Regions from separate parts of the Homo sapiens genome. Here regions 1, 2, 3 and 5 are each linked to region 4. Evidence: promoter capture Hi-C in human tissues and cell types (Jung and others, 2019). All regions are on one chromosome and are shown on one strand. The core of a region is centred on a gene start or on the middle of the fragment in contact, and the rest is flanking DNA. Distances in the headings are between cores, read along the strand shown. Region 1 overlaps NFATC3 (nuclear factor of activated T cells 3). Region 2 overlaps CTCF (CCCTC-binding factor). Region 3 overlaps CTCF (CCCTC-binding factor). Region 4 holds the start of NRN1L (neuritin 1 like). Region 5 overlaps ATP6V0D1 (ATPase H+ transporting V0 subunit d1).

Evidence for each region. The method cuts DNA at HindIII sites, captures the fragments that hold promoters and counts their contacts. A contact is called where the count stands out against the background at its distance.
Region 1: a fragment that was not itself captured here is called in contact with the fragment with the promoter of NRN1L in region 4 in 2 of the 25 tissues and cell types used here (dorsolateral prefrontal cortex and spleen).
Region 2: a contact is called between a fragment that was not itself captured here and the fragment with the promoter of NRN1L in region 4, in 3 of the 25 tissues and cell types used here (dorsolateral prefrontal cortex, lymphoblastoid cells and spleen).
Region 3: a contact is called between a fragment that was not itself captured here and the fragment with the promoter of NRN1L in region 4, in 2 of the 25 tissues and cell types used here (dorsolateral prefrontal cortex and spleen).
Region 5: a contact is called between a fragment that was not itself captured here and the fragment with the promoter of NRN1L in region 4, in 2 of the 25 tissues and cell types used here (dorsolateral prefrontal cortex and spleen).

Annotation. Positions count from the first base shown.
Region 1 is chr16:68,147,479-68,150,178 of GRCh38, forward strand. The region is part of intron 3 of NFATC3 (nuclear factor of activated T cells 3); the gene reads left to right. Among named protein-coding and RNA genes, the nearest start is that of NFATC3, 63 kb to the left of the region's middle. The HindIII fragment of the contact is 8,254 bases long and covers 1-2,700 here.
Region 2 is chr16:67,590,965-67,593,664 of GRCh38, forward strand. The region is part of intron 2 of CTCF (CCCTC-binding factor); the gene reads left to right. Among named protein-coding and RNA genes, the nearest start is that of CTCF, 30 kb to the left of the region's middle. The HindIII fragment of the contact is 6,285 bases long and covers 1-2,700 here.
Region 3 is chr16:67,606,815-67,609,514 of GRCh38, forward strand. All of the region lies in intron 2 of CTCF (CCCTC-binding factor), which reads left to right. Among named protein-coding and RNA genes, the nearest start is that of CARMIL2, 37 kb to the right of the region's middle. The HindIII fragment of the contact is 5,706 bases long and covers 1-2,700 here.
Region 4 is chr16:67,883,568-67,886,267 of GRCh38, forward strand. NRN1L (neuritin 1 like) reads left to right here and starts at 1,318. Exons shown (of 3, transcript NM_198443.2): 1 at 1,318-1,415; 2 at 2,155-2,287; 3 at 2,407-2,700. The coding sequence starts at 1,337. The coding sequence ends at 2,692. It overlaps EDC4 (enhancer of mRNA decapping 4), which reads left to right. Exons shown (of 29, transcript NM_014329.5): 28 at 1-164; 29 at 389-932. The coding sequence ends at 581. RefSeq lists enhancers at 410-589, 895-1,404, 1,405-1,912. The HindIII fragment of the contact is 2,833 bases long and covers 1-2,373 here.
Region 5 is chr16:67,445,852-67,448,551 of GRCh38, forward strand. All of the region lies in intron 2 of ATP6V0D1 (ATPase H+ transporting V0 subunit d1), which reads right to left. Among named protein-coding and RNA genes, the nearest start is that of HSD11B2, 16 kb to the left of the region's middle. RefSeq lists an enhancer at 1,405-1,904. The HindIII fragment of the contact is 4,026 bases long and covers 1-2,700 here.

The DNA of each region.
Region 1 (2,700 bases), core at 137-2,636, 260 kb after region 4:
ACAATGATTGAATGCCTGTAATGTGCTAGGCGCTCTGCTAGGCTCTGGAGATAACAAGATGGATACTGTCCTCTTCACAGTGCTCACAGGCAAGTGGTAAAGTTGTTGCTGTTTATTTCTCCACTTGATGAACAGTTGGTCATGTAGAATAATTTGTTAAATTTATGATTAAACATGAAAGAGCAACAGGTATACCAAAAAGGAATGACTAATCACTGAATAGATGAATGTGAGGAAGTTGCCTAATCATTGTTAGCTTCAGATTATCTGTGAACTGAAAAAAAAAAAAAAAAAAAGACATATAGTCCACAGGAGTTTTTGGATGCAGTGAACTATAACCACTCTCTACCTTCATTTTTTTTTACCTCTGGGTATAAATCTGGATGAATCTCACGTGGCATTATTACTTACCCCATCTGCCGCCAGATAAACCAAAAGAGTAATGGCTGAAATTTGTTTTTGCACAGATACACATAAAATATATGCCCAAACTTTTCCAGTTTCCTTTTAGCTATTGATTTATTTAGGATTTATTTATTTATTTATTTAGAGATGGAGTTTTGCTCTTGTTTTGCACTCCAGGCTGGAGTGCAATGGCGCGATCTCGGCTCACTGCAACCTCCGCCTCCTGGGTTCAAGCGATTCTCCTGCCTCAGTCTTCCTGAGTAGCTGGGATTAGAGGCATTCGCCACCATGCCCGGCTAATTTTGTATTTTTAGTAGAGATGGGGTTTCTCCATGTTGGTCAGGCTGGTCTCGAACTCCCGACCTCGGGTGATCCACCTGCCTAGGCCTCCCAAAGTGCTGGGATTACAGGTGTGAGCCACCGTGCCTGACCTAGGCTTTATTTTTGTTATTGTGATGATATTGACATTTTATAGTTTTATGGAATAGTTTCCATAATTAAAGCTTTGAAATTTATTAATTTTACACTAAAATGTGTAAAAAAATTACAAATGAGAATACTGATAGATTTCTTGACTACATAAAAATTAAAATATTTACAGAAAATGGAAACATAAATGTAATAAATTGAACAGGTTTACTTTCACTAAACATAAGACAGCTGTAGCTTAAGCCTGCTGGCAGGTGAGAAAGAACCAATAAGCAAGCAGCACAAGTCATTTTGCATCTGAGAACTCTGGAAAGGTTCAGGAATTTGACGTACTGGATATCTCTGAAAGTGGGATGTGAGGTGAGACTGAAAACAAGAAGATTGGATAAAAAGTCTATAAAAGAAGGAGTTAAGACCGGGCACGGTGGTTCACACCTGTAATCCTAGCACCTTAGGAGGTTGAGGCGGGTGGATCATTTGAGGACAGGAGTTTGGGACCACCTGGCCAACATGGTGAAACCCTGTCTCTACTAAAAATACAAAAAAATTAGCCGGGCATGGTGGCTCATGCCTGTAGTTCCAGCTACTCAGGAGGCTGAGGCAGAAGAATTGCTTGAACCTGGGAGGTGGAGGTTGCAGCACCACTGCACTCCAGCCTGGGCAACACAGCGAGACTCCATCTTAAAAGAAAAAAAAATTAAATTGAATTTAAAAAGGACTTAAATTTCCCAGATGTTTCTTTCCTGTGTGGTACAGCCTAGTGATAATGCCTGTCTTACCCTGAGAGAATCTGGTGATTCTATAGAGAGAATGAAGTGGAGGTTCTAGATTCTAGGAGAGCTAAAGGCTAGGCTTAATGATCTGTTCTTAAAATGGGGTGGGGGCGGAAGGGAAGGCATAATGGAAGTCTGCATACTGAAGAGTGAGACCTCTGACCATTTTATTAGTTCCCACAATGCTTGCAATAGGTTTACTATGCTCCCTAGGCAGAAGACTGCAGGATGTGTTTTAGGCAAACTCACTGGTCCAGTAGAAGAGACCTGTAGATTCTAAGAAATAAACTTTACTTTTAACATGTTTAAATTACTGTTACTTTGGATTTTTGTTTATGCAGCCAAACTTAATCCTAATATAAAAGGCAATTATTAACTGTAACCAAATAAGTTGTATGAAAAAGGAAATATAATTAAAATACACTACAAGGCTGAGCTGCAAGTAACATGTATCCAGTTATAATGCAAACACTGAAAGTTCAAAAGATAATATATCTAACCTTGAAAAACATTAGGAAATAGCAGTATTAACATGTTCCTTAGAAATATGGAAGTAAGTTCCAAAAGAAACAGTGAAAAGGGTTACAAATGGTTCCCTTCTGAGGAGCAGAAATTGATCCAGAATTGGTGATAAATGGAAAACAAAACCATATTTATAACTTGTAAGGCAGACAAAGGGTTAATATGCTTAGTATATCTAAAGGGCTTGTAAAATTAATAATACTAAAATAGAAACAGAAAATGAGCAAATCATATAAACAGCCACAAAGGGGAAAAGTTGTCTGTGTAGACTATTACCACTTCTCTGTTCTTTGCTTTTTTGATAGGTTAGAAGTAGTTTTCTTATTTATTTGATATTTAATAAGATTGAGCATTTTTCCATTTATTTATTAGCTGTTTTTCCCTGCTTTATATGCTCTACTTATATCCTTTGAGAAGGGTAGTTGGAATTACGATTTGTCATCTTCCTTGAATCTGGAATTGTTTCTGCAGTATGAATTATAATAAAGAATCTTGCCCGTTGCAAAACATTATTATAAACCTTTGGTGGTTATATCCTGAGGTCTTTGTGCCTCTTTGGTTACAAGTCTTC
Region 2 (2,700 bases), core at 4-2,503, 290 kb before region 4:
AAAAAAAAAAAAAAAAAAATGCTGGACTGGGTGGCTCACACAAATGCTGTGATTACAGGCGTGAGCCACCGTAATCCCAGCACTTTGGGAGGCCGAGGCGGGCAGATCACTTGAGGTCAGGAGTTTGAGACTAGCCTAGCCAACATGATGAAACCCCATCTCTACGAAAAATACAAAAATTAGCTAGTCGTGGTGATGCGTGCCTGTAATCCCAGCTACTCAGGAGGCTGAGGCTGAGAATTGCTTGAACACAGGAGGCAGAGATTGCAGTGAGCCAAGATCTCACCACTGCACTCCAGCCTGGGTGACAGAGCGAGACTCTGTCTCAAAAAATAAATGAAAATTAATGTCAGAGAAGTGAGAGGTACAGTTGTGATTAAATAGATGAGTGCTTTTTCAGATAAAGGCTGCTTCCGTTCCCAGTCACTGTGAAAGAAATGGTCACTATTATTTTTCTGCTTCTCAGCCCAAGTTATTCTCCCAATTCAACTCCTCCTCATTCTTTATTGTAGTCTACAACTTTCCTGGTACTAGTTCACTGATACTTTGCTTTGATGTATTTTAAGCTCTCAGATAAGATGATGGCGTATATGTTTTCAGGAATAGCAGAGTAAAATGGTTATTTTGTTTAACTTTTAAACCTAGCTTTTACTCTAAAAGAGTTAATAACTTTTATTCGTTTTGGCTAGTGTCCTGCATCTAGTAAAAGTTACTTAGCTTTTCCTTTCATCCTCAGGAAAAACTGATTACTTTTTTTGGGGGGGGGCAGTAAGGGCACAGAGTCTTGCGCTGTCACTCAGACTGGAATGCAGTGGTGTGATGATAGCTTACTGCAGCCTGGGCTCAGGCGATCCTCCCGCCTCAGTCCCGAGTAGCTGGGACTACAGATGGATGCCATCATACCTAGCTAATTTTTTTTTTAATTTTTAATGGAGACAAGGTCTCACTATGTTGCTCAGGCTGGTCTTGAACTCCTGGGCTCAAACGATTCTCTTGGCTCTGCCTCCCCAAGTACTGGGATTATATGTGTGAGCCACTGTGCCCGACCTGATGACTTATAATTGCTTTTTTTCCCCTCCTTGTCCTAATGTCATTTAACATTCTGTATAGTGAGAATACCAGACTAAGCTTTTCAGTCAACATTTTTCTAATGTAAAGATCTATCGACTGGACGCAGTGGCTCACACCTGTAAACCCAGCACTTTGGGAGGATGAGGCGGGCACATCACCTGAGGTCAGGAGTTTGAGACCAGCCTGGCCAACATAGTGAAACCCTGTCTCTACTAAAAATACAAAAATTTGCTGGGCATAGTGGTGTACGCCTGTGATCCCAGCTGCTCAGGAGGCTGAGGCAGGAGAATTGCTTGAACCCTGGAGGCAGAGGTTGCAGTGGCCGGGATTGTGCCACTGCGCTCCAGCCTGGGTGGCAGAGCAAGAATCTGTCTAAAAAAATAAATAAGGCCAGGCACAGTGGCTCATGCCTGTAATCCCAGTAATTTAGGAGGCTGAGGTGGGAGGATCACCAGAGCTCAGAAGTTTGAGACCATCCTGACCAGTATGGTGAAACCCTGTCTCTACTAAAAATATAAAAATTAGCCGGCATGGTGGCATGCGCCTGTAGTCCCAGCCACTCGGGAGGCTGAGACATTAGAATTATTTGAGCCCAGGAGGCGGAAGTCGCAGTGAGCCAAGATCGTGCCACTGCACTGCAGCCTGGGTGACAGAGTGAGACTCCGTCTCAAAAACAACAACATCAAAAAAAGATACTTACAGAGGCCAGGCGTTGGTGACTGGCTCAACGTCAGTAATCTCAGCACTTTGGGAGGCCGAGGTGGGTGGATCACTTGAGCTCAGGAGTTTGAGACCAGCCTGGCCAACATGGTGAAACCCCGTCTCTACTAAAAATACAAAAATTAGCGGGGCACAGTGGCATGTGCCTGTAGTCCCAGCTACTTAGGAGGCTGAGGCAGGAGAATCGGTTGAACCTGGAGGCAGGGGTTGCAGTGAGCCGAGATCGCGCCACTGCATTCCAGCCTGGGTGACAGAGTGAAACTCCATCTGGAAAAAAAAAATTTATATATATATGTATAAATGTTTAATATATATTTTATATTTATATATTTGTATATCTTTTTTATATTTTAATATATGGTTTTTAATATATATTTTATACATATAAAGAGAAAGGTGCAAGGTATCTTCTGTTCTCTTAAAATTTTTTACAATTTCAACTTTTATTTTAGATTCGGGGGTACATGTCCAAGTTTTTTTGTGTACATGGGTATATTGTGTGATTATGAGGTTTGGGGGTACAATTGTTGCTCATCACCCAGGTAATGAGCATAGTACCCAATGATTAGTTTTGCAGCCCTTACCCCGTTTTCTCCCTCCCCCTCCTAATCCCTAAGGCCTATTGTTATGTTTATGTCCATGTGTACCCAGTGTGTAGCTTCCACTTGTAAGTGAGAACATGAGATACTTGGTTTTCTGTTCCTGCCTTAATTCGCTTAGGATAATGACCTCCAGCTGCATCTGTGTTGCTGTAAAGGACATTATTTCATTCTTTTTTATGGCTGTGCGTTCTCTGCCTTCTTATGATGTCTGAGGGTTCGTATCAACCTCTGTTAGGCCATTTGTTAGGTACCCTTCATGTTGACTTTCAGAATTTCTGTGGCTTGTGAAAGTTCATGGGGTCTTAGA
Region 3 (2,700 bases), core at 196-2,695, 280 kb before region 4:
GGAGTGCAGTGGCACTCGGCTCACTGCAATCTCCGCCTCCAGGCTTCAAGCAATTCTCGAGCCTCACTCAGCCTTCCAAGTAGCTGGGATTAGAGGCACACCCCACCACACTCAGCTATATATGTTTTATTTTATTTTAATTATTATTATTTTTTTGAGACAGAGGCTCGCTCTGTTGCCCTGGCTGGAGGGAGTACAGTGGCCCAATCTCAGCTCACTGCAACCTCCACCTCCCAGGTTCAAGCAATTCTTCTGCCTCGGCCTCCTGAGTAGCTGGGATTACAGGCATGTGCCACCACACCTGGCTAATTTTTGTATTTTTAATAGAAACGGGGTTTTGCCGTGTTGGCCAGGCTTGTCTCCATCTCCTGACTTCAAGTGATCTGCCCGCCTCGGCCTCCCAAAATGCTGGGATTACAGGCCTGAGCCACCACGCCTGGCCCCTATTTTACTCTTGTTTAGGTAATGTCATTCACAAGATTTTTGTTTGTTTTTTATTTTTTGTTTTTGAGACCGAGTCTCACTCTGTCGCCCAGGCTGGAATGCAGGGGCACTTTCTCAGCTCGCTGCAACCTCCACCTCCAGGGTTCAAGTTCTTTTCGTGCCTCAGCCTCCCAAGTAGCTGGGATTACAGGTGCACACCACTACGCCTGGCTAATTTTTGTATTTTTAGTAGAGATGGGGTTTTGCCATGTTAGCCAGGCTGGTCTTGAACTCCTGGCCTCAACTGATCCACCAGCCTTGGCCTCCCAAAGTGCTGGGATTACAGGCGTGAGCTACCGTGCCCGGCCCATTCACAAGATATAAGAGCCAAAAACTATGAATTGGCTGATTTGTTTTCTGCTTTCTATTATATATTCAATTTGGTTGGCATTTATTGAGTACTTACCATCCTGGGCACAGTGCTAAAGAGTAAAAACCGTGGCTGGGCGTGGTGGCTCACGCCTGTAGTCCCAGCACTTTGGGAGGCCGAGGCGGACAGATCACGAGGTCAGAAGTTCAAGACCAGCCTGGCCAACATAGTGAAACCCCGTATCTGCTAAAAATACAGAAAATTAGCCAGGTGTGGTGGTGGGCACCTGTAATCCCAACTACTCCGGAGGCTGAAGCAGGAGAATCACTTAAACCTGGGAGGCAGAGGTTGCAGTGAGCCAAGATCACGCCATTGCACTCCAGCCTGGGCGACAGTGCGAGACTCCGACTCAAAAAAAAAAAAAAAGTAAAAACCGGTTGGGCGCAGTGGCTCACACCTGTAATCCCAGCACTTTGGGAGGCCGAGGCAGGCGGATCACGAGGTCAGGAAATCGAGACCATCCTGGCTAACATGGTGAAACCCCGTCTCTACTAAAAATACAAAAAATTAGCCGGGCATGGTGGTGGGCGCCTGTAGTCCCAGCTACTCGGGAGGCTGAGGCAGGAGAATGGCGTGAACCTGGGAGGCGGAGCTTGCAGTGAGCGGAGATCGTGCCACTGCACCCTAGCCTGGGCAACAGAGCGAGACTCCGTCTCAAAAAAAAAATTAAAAAAAAAAAAACGACTTGTTAGATGTGGTTCTTATTCTCAGGGAATTCCTGATCTCATTGTCAGGAGAGAGGTGAATGTCAAGTTGATGGTATGACATGGGCAGTTTTGTGCAGTGTCTACAAACACGGCCATTGCAGTCTGGATCTAAGTTCTGAGTTTGGCTTCAAAAAACAAGGTCAAAAACCCTTGACAGGGTGGGGAAAATGGGGAATTGCTGTTGAGTGGGTATAAAGTTTCAGTTATGCAAGATGAGTAAGTTCTAGAGATCTGCTACACAACATAGTTCCTGTATTAATCGTATAGCATTATGCACTTTGAATTATGTTGAGGATGGATCTCATGATAAATATTATCACCAAAAACAAAATACAAGGAAATTTTGGAGGTGTATTTAGTGTTTTTTTTTTTCTTTTTTGAGACGGAGTTTCGTTCTTGTTGCCCAGGCTGCACAGTACAATGGCGCAATCTTGGCTCACCGCAACCTCCACCTCCCGGGTCAAACGATTCTCCTGCCTCAGCCTCCCAAGTAGCCAGGATTACATACAGGCATGCACCATCACACCTGGCTAATTTTGTATTTTTACTTAGGACGGGGTTTCTCCATGTTGTTCAGGGTGGTCTCGTACTCCCGACCTCAGGTGATCCACACACCTCAGCCTCCCAAAGTGCTGGGATTATAGGCGTGAGCCACCACGTGCTTAATAAAGCTACCTTAATAAAGCTTTTTACAAAACATTGGCAGACCCGGGCACAGTGGCTCAGTCACATGTATAATCCCAGCACTTTGGGAGGCTTAGGTGGGAGGATTGCTTCAGCCCAGGAGTTCAAGGCCAGTCTGGAAATGTGGCAAGACCCCATAATTGCAGAAAATTAAGCTAATTCATATATGCATCATCTCACATCCTTGTCATTTTTTGTGATGAGAACACTTAAAAATCTGCTCTCAGTTATTTTCAGGTATACGTTATTATTAACTGTAATATTCATGTTGTATAATAGATCTCTTGAACTTATTCCCACTGAAATTATATGTCCTTTACCAGTGTCTTCCCCACTACATGTGTAAGATTTAAATTAGTTTTGTTAGTAATTCTTTAATATCATCAGATATCCAGAGTTGAAATTTCTAATTGTCTTGTGTCACATCTTTTTCACCATTTATTGGTTTGAATCAGG
Region 4 (2,700 bases), core at 68-2,567:
GCGCTGACAGCTGCTGACCTGAACCTGGTGCTGTATGTGTGTGAAACTGTGGACCCAGCCCAGGTTTTTGGGCAGCCACCCTGCCCGCTCTCCCAGCCTGTGCTCCTTTCCCTCATCCAGCAGCTGGCATCTGACCTTGGCACTCGAACTGACCTCAAGCTCAGGTAAGTGGGGACAGCCAGGGATGGGGAGATGAGCTGGGGAGTGGGGCAGTGGGAGGGAGCAGTTTGAAGCTGACGCCCACTTCTGCCTGAATCCTCTCCCTAATTTTCTCCACCAGTCCTTTCTGCCTTCACCCAGAGGGTTCCCTCTGGGCCTCGGTGCCACCAGGGGGCGCTCCCGTCTGCTGGCACCCACCTGTAGCCTGTCCTTTCCCCCCCATCCCCAGCTACCTGGAAGAGGCCGTGATGCACCTGGACCACAGTGACCCCATCACTCGGGACCACATGGGCTCCGTTATGGCCCAGGTGCGCCAAAAGCTTTTTCAGTTCCTGCAGGCTGAGCCACACAACTCACTTGGCAAAGCAGCTCGGCGTCTCAGCCTCATGCTGCATGGCCTCGTGACCCCCAGCCTCCCTTAGCTGCTAAGCCTGCCTTGCCCAGGGGTGGGATGGCACTGAAGGCCAGCAGACAGGCCTAGGCTGGGGCAGGGTCACGGCTGGCCTTTACCTGCTCAGGCCCCCATCTCTGGGGTGTTTGGGGGTCAGGGAGCAGGGAGCACTGGCCGTGGTCTACAGCGTGTGGTAGTCAGAAGGTTTAGCTGGGCCCAGGGCAGGTATTGCGCCTGCTTGGGTTCTGCCATGCCTGGAGCATGACCCTGAGATCGTGACACCACTTGAGTGGAATTTTCCATGTTCCTTTTTACCTCTAATTTGGATCTTTTTGTTTTTGAAAAACATTGAGAAATTCAATTAAATGCTTTTGGAATAAAATGGAGTATGTGTGTGCTTTTGGTTTGTCTTTGGTGTGACTCTCATAACTGCCGTCTGTTCGTTCTCTGCCCATCTCTTGCCCGTGGAGCTCTGTCGAGGCCAACCCAGCCAAGGGGCCGGGTTACCCACTCATCTGCTCCAACTGCCTTCCCAGATCTCCCTTCTCCCTCCTTCTATGGAGTGAGGGTCCAGGGGCCTGCCCAGCACCAGCCTGTGCTCCTGCGAATTTCTGCTCTCTGAGGTCTCCTCGCTCCTTTTCCCATCTGGGTGTTGGAGGCGGAGCCGCCGGCTGGGTTCGGAGCCCCACCCCCAGCTCCCATCCAATCACCGTCCCTCCCTCCGGGGGCTGGGCGGACGGGCTGCACTCCAAGCAGCTAGCTCCTGCACTAGGCTCTCAGCCAGGGATGATGCGCTGCTGCCGCCGCCGCTGCTGCTGCCGGCAACCACCCCATGCCCTGAGGCCGTTGCTGTTGCTGCCCCTCGGTGAGTGCGGGCATCCGGGGCCCGGGCCACACCCCCTTCTCGCCCAGCCAAGCCAGGCTGGGCATAGGGTGTGTGGGAACGCTGGGTGCCAGGGTGGAGAAGAGTTGTAAGGGCTCCAGGAAGGTGTGCTGGTGACTTCAGGACAGAAAGTGAGAGGCACAAACAGCCCCAGTTATGGGAGAAGGACTCCAAAATTTGCATCCCCTCTTATGATAAAGGGAGACATGCCAATGGCAGGACTTATAGACCAGTCGTAGGATCCCTAAGTCCTCTCTGAGGGTCTGGCCTGGATCCCAATACCTCTGCATCCTGCCTTGTCTCTCCAAAAATATTTATCTTTAGAGAGAGTTCGGAGGGCCAAGCAAAGCTTGTCTAAACCGCAGAGAGATGCACCTGCTCCTGGTCCGGGGCCTCTGGACCTCCCTCCCCTCCACCCTGTCCTGACTCCTTTACATGGACCCTTGTCACCCCACCTGCGGCCCCAGAAGCTCAAAGGAAGAGCTGACCTGGGGTACACAACACCCCCTTCCCCTGTACAAATCCCAGTCTGGGTCCTACCTTGAAGGGGGCCTGGGTAGGTAATCCCCAGACTTGCCCTTTAGTTCCCTGGGGCACCCTTTTTCCGCTGAGTCACATCCCCAGAGTGCTCCCAGGTAAACAAGCCCCTGGGGGCTGGGGGATGAGCCTGGCTCATCCTATCTACCATTCCTTCCCCACCCCACCCCCGCCCCACTTCTAGTCCTTTTACCTCCCCTGGCAGCAGCTGCAGCGGGCCCAAACCGATGTGACACCATATACCAGGGCTTCGCCGAGTGTCTCATCCGCTTGGGGGACAGCATGGGCCGCGGAGGCGAGCTGGAGACCATCTGCAGGTACCGGCGGGTGTGAGGCAGTGGCCCAACCTGTGCCACCATTGGGGACTGAACCTTTTATTTCCCAAGCTAAAGTCTCCTTGCCTCACCTAATCCCCCTAATCCCACTCCCTTAACAGGTCTTGGAATGACTTCCATGCCTGTGCCTCTCAGGTCCTGTCAGGCTGTCCGGAGGAGGCAGCTGCAGTGTGGGAATCACTACAGCAAGAAGCTCGCCAGGCCCCCCGTCCGAATAACTTGCACACTCTGTGCGGTGCCCCGGTGCATGTTCGGGAGCGCGGCACAGGCTCCGAAACCAACCAGGAGACGCTGCGGGCTACAGCGCCTGCACTCCCCATGGCCCCTGCGCCCCCACTGCTGGCGGCTGCTCTGGCTCTGGCCTACCTCCTGAGGCCTCTGGCCTAGCTTGTTGG
Region 5 (2,700 bases), core at 70-2,569, 440 kb before region 4:
AGTTAGGCTGCAGTAGCCACAACTATCCTCCAGTCTGTCACCAAAGATGAACTCAGGGTATGAGGGAGCTAAATGAGGCCTAGGGGAAATTCCTCCAAGGTCAAGGTGAGGCACCTATGGGATAAAAGTTGGGGTGGAGGCTGCTGTTCTGAGCTGGGCACTGAACACGGGTCTTGTCCTAGCTTCTGAGTGGGCCAGAGCTAGGCCCCTGCCCTGTGACAGGACCTTGTGCAACTAGTGCTCAGGCTGTCCAGAGAAGACCTTGGTAGGAGGTGTCTTCCCCCATACTGAAGAAAGAAAGGAGGGGAGGTGGCAGCCCAGGGCCCAGGCCACGGCTCAAAGCACTGGCCACTGGGGGAGCTCCCACAGGGCCCTCTAGAAAGGCGGCAGGAGGAAAAGGCCCCAGCTCCTGTCCTGGCCTGACCCCCACTCCCCCTGCTTGCTCTGCACTCCCCCAGCTCCCACCCAGCCTGGCGCCCTGCGAAGACCTTTGCTCTCCTGGGCCTGGAGCCAGGCAACTGCCCTCTCTCCACCCCCAATCTGGCTGGGTCAGCTACAGGATGTGCACTGAGAAGAGACAGTCCCCTAACTCCCAACCATAACTGAGAGCCTTAAGCAGGGCCCACTTGCAGCTGCAAGCCAAGAGGCCCAAATGGGCAGCCTCCTGCCCCCAACCCCACAGTGCTGGCAGAGTGAGGGACCTCAGAGCTCGCCAGAGCTTTGGGCCATGGTCTGCAGCTCCAGCCTGCATATTTTCTACCCCGGACAGCACACACGCCTCCTGCCTATGAGGCCTCCAACATCTCACATACCCCAGAACCCATGCTGCATATGCGCCACCCCGCAATACTCTAACTGCACCCCATCCAGCCCCAATGTAGCCTTGGTGCTCCCTGAGACAGTCACAAATCCCCTGCCCCCAAGCAGAAGGATGCTTTCTTATGCTCTCCCTCCCTTTCGGACGGGAAGAGGGAGAAAAAGCACACCCAAGGCCCACCTTATCCAAGTGATCCCACAACCACTAGCATTACCAGCCCCACTGTCAGAGCAGATAAGGCCCAGAGAGGGCCAGCACCAGGCCCTAACACACCACAAAGCAGAGGAGCTCCACGTCCCCATGGCCAATGTCCACACACCTCCACCCATGACCAGGGCCCCCTGCCTGGCTCTACATACCCCACCTAGTCTCATTTTCTCAGAGGGATCCCCACCAGCCAATCTCCTCTTTTTCAACGTCCCCCTCCTTGCGCCCCCCACTCAGGGCATCTGTTTATGTGGGGGAAATGCTGAGCCTAGTAAGGGCCACTCACAATCGCACTACCCCAGCCCCTTCAAGGCCCTCTTCAAACCCAAGCCAGGCCAATCGTGGGCGATCCTGTGCCAGGCCCAGCACTTCCCTTGCCGGGCTGGCTATAAGCTTGTTGCTGCTGCAGCCCTGCTTTTCTCTCCTGCCCAGTGAGGGGCAGAATCCTCTTTTTCAGGAGATGAGAGGCTGGACAGGCCTGGCAGAGATAAGGCTGGCCCAGCAGTCTGCCTTTCTCCCAAGGCCGAGGCCTTCGGCAGGCAGGGAAATCCTCCTCTTCCTCCTTGCCTGGCTTCAGCAGCTGCCTCCCTGCCCCCAGAAAGCCACTCCACCATTCCTCCCCTCATTTGGCCTCAATAGGAGGGAATAAGGTTCCAGCTGGTCAGCATCTCCCTCCAGGGGAAGACAGCTGGGGAGTGGAGGGCCGGCTGCCCGCCAGGCCAAAGAGGCCCTTGTGGGGTGGGGGTGGGGCCGTCTGTATTCCTCTGCCCAGAGGCCCTCCCTTGCCCTGTGCCTTCAAAACTCAGCTTGGGCCCACAGACATCTTGGGTTGGAGTTTAGGAAGCCACTTCCTCCAAGAAGCCTTCAGAGTCCCTAGCCAACTCTGCCCCTCTGCTGCGCCCTTTGGTGCCACCTGCTGGAACAATATGGCTTCTCAACCCCGGGTGGCTGGTCTGGTGCTGGTGAGGCAGCCATGATGCCTGGGTAACCCTGCCAGCCTGTCCACTGCAGTCCCCAGCAGGTGCTCCAGTGAGCTGCTAATGACAGTATCTGTATTCAATCACTTCTGGGTCCTGAAGAGCCCTGTGCAGAGTGGAAAGTGAACAGAAATATCACTGTTTCTGAGCTCTGTCCATGGCCTCAGCACACCACCTCTCGAGACTTAGTTTCTCCTCCATATCAAGATGAGTGAGGGCCAGGCATGGTGGCTCACACCAGTAATCCCAGCACTTTGGGAGGCAGAGGTGGGAGGCTCTCTTAGCTCAGGAGTTTGAGGCCAGCCTGGGCAACATAGCAAGACCTCATTTCTATTAAAAAATCAAAAAAATTAGCCAGGTGTGGTGGCATGCACTTGTAATACCAGACACTTGGGAGGCTGAGGCAGGAGGATCACTTGAGCCCAGGAGATCAAGGCTGCAGGTGAGCTATGATCATGCCACTGCACTCCAGCCTGGGCAACAGAGCAAGATCCTATCTCAAAAAATAAAATAAATAGAAGATGAGGGTGGGTGCTGTGGCTCATGCCTGTTATCCCAGCACTTTGGGAGGCCGAGGAGGGCGGATCACTTGAGGCCAGGAGTTTGAGACCACCCTGGCCAACATGGTGAAATCCTGTCTCTATTAAAAATACAAAAATTAGTCGGGTGTGGTGGCGCACACCTGTAATCCCAGCTGCT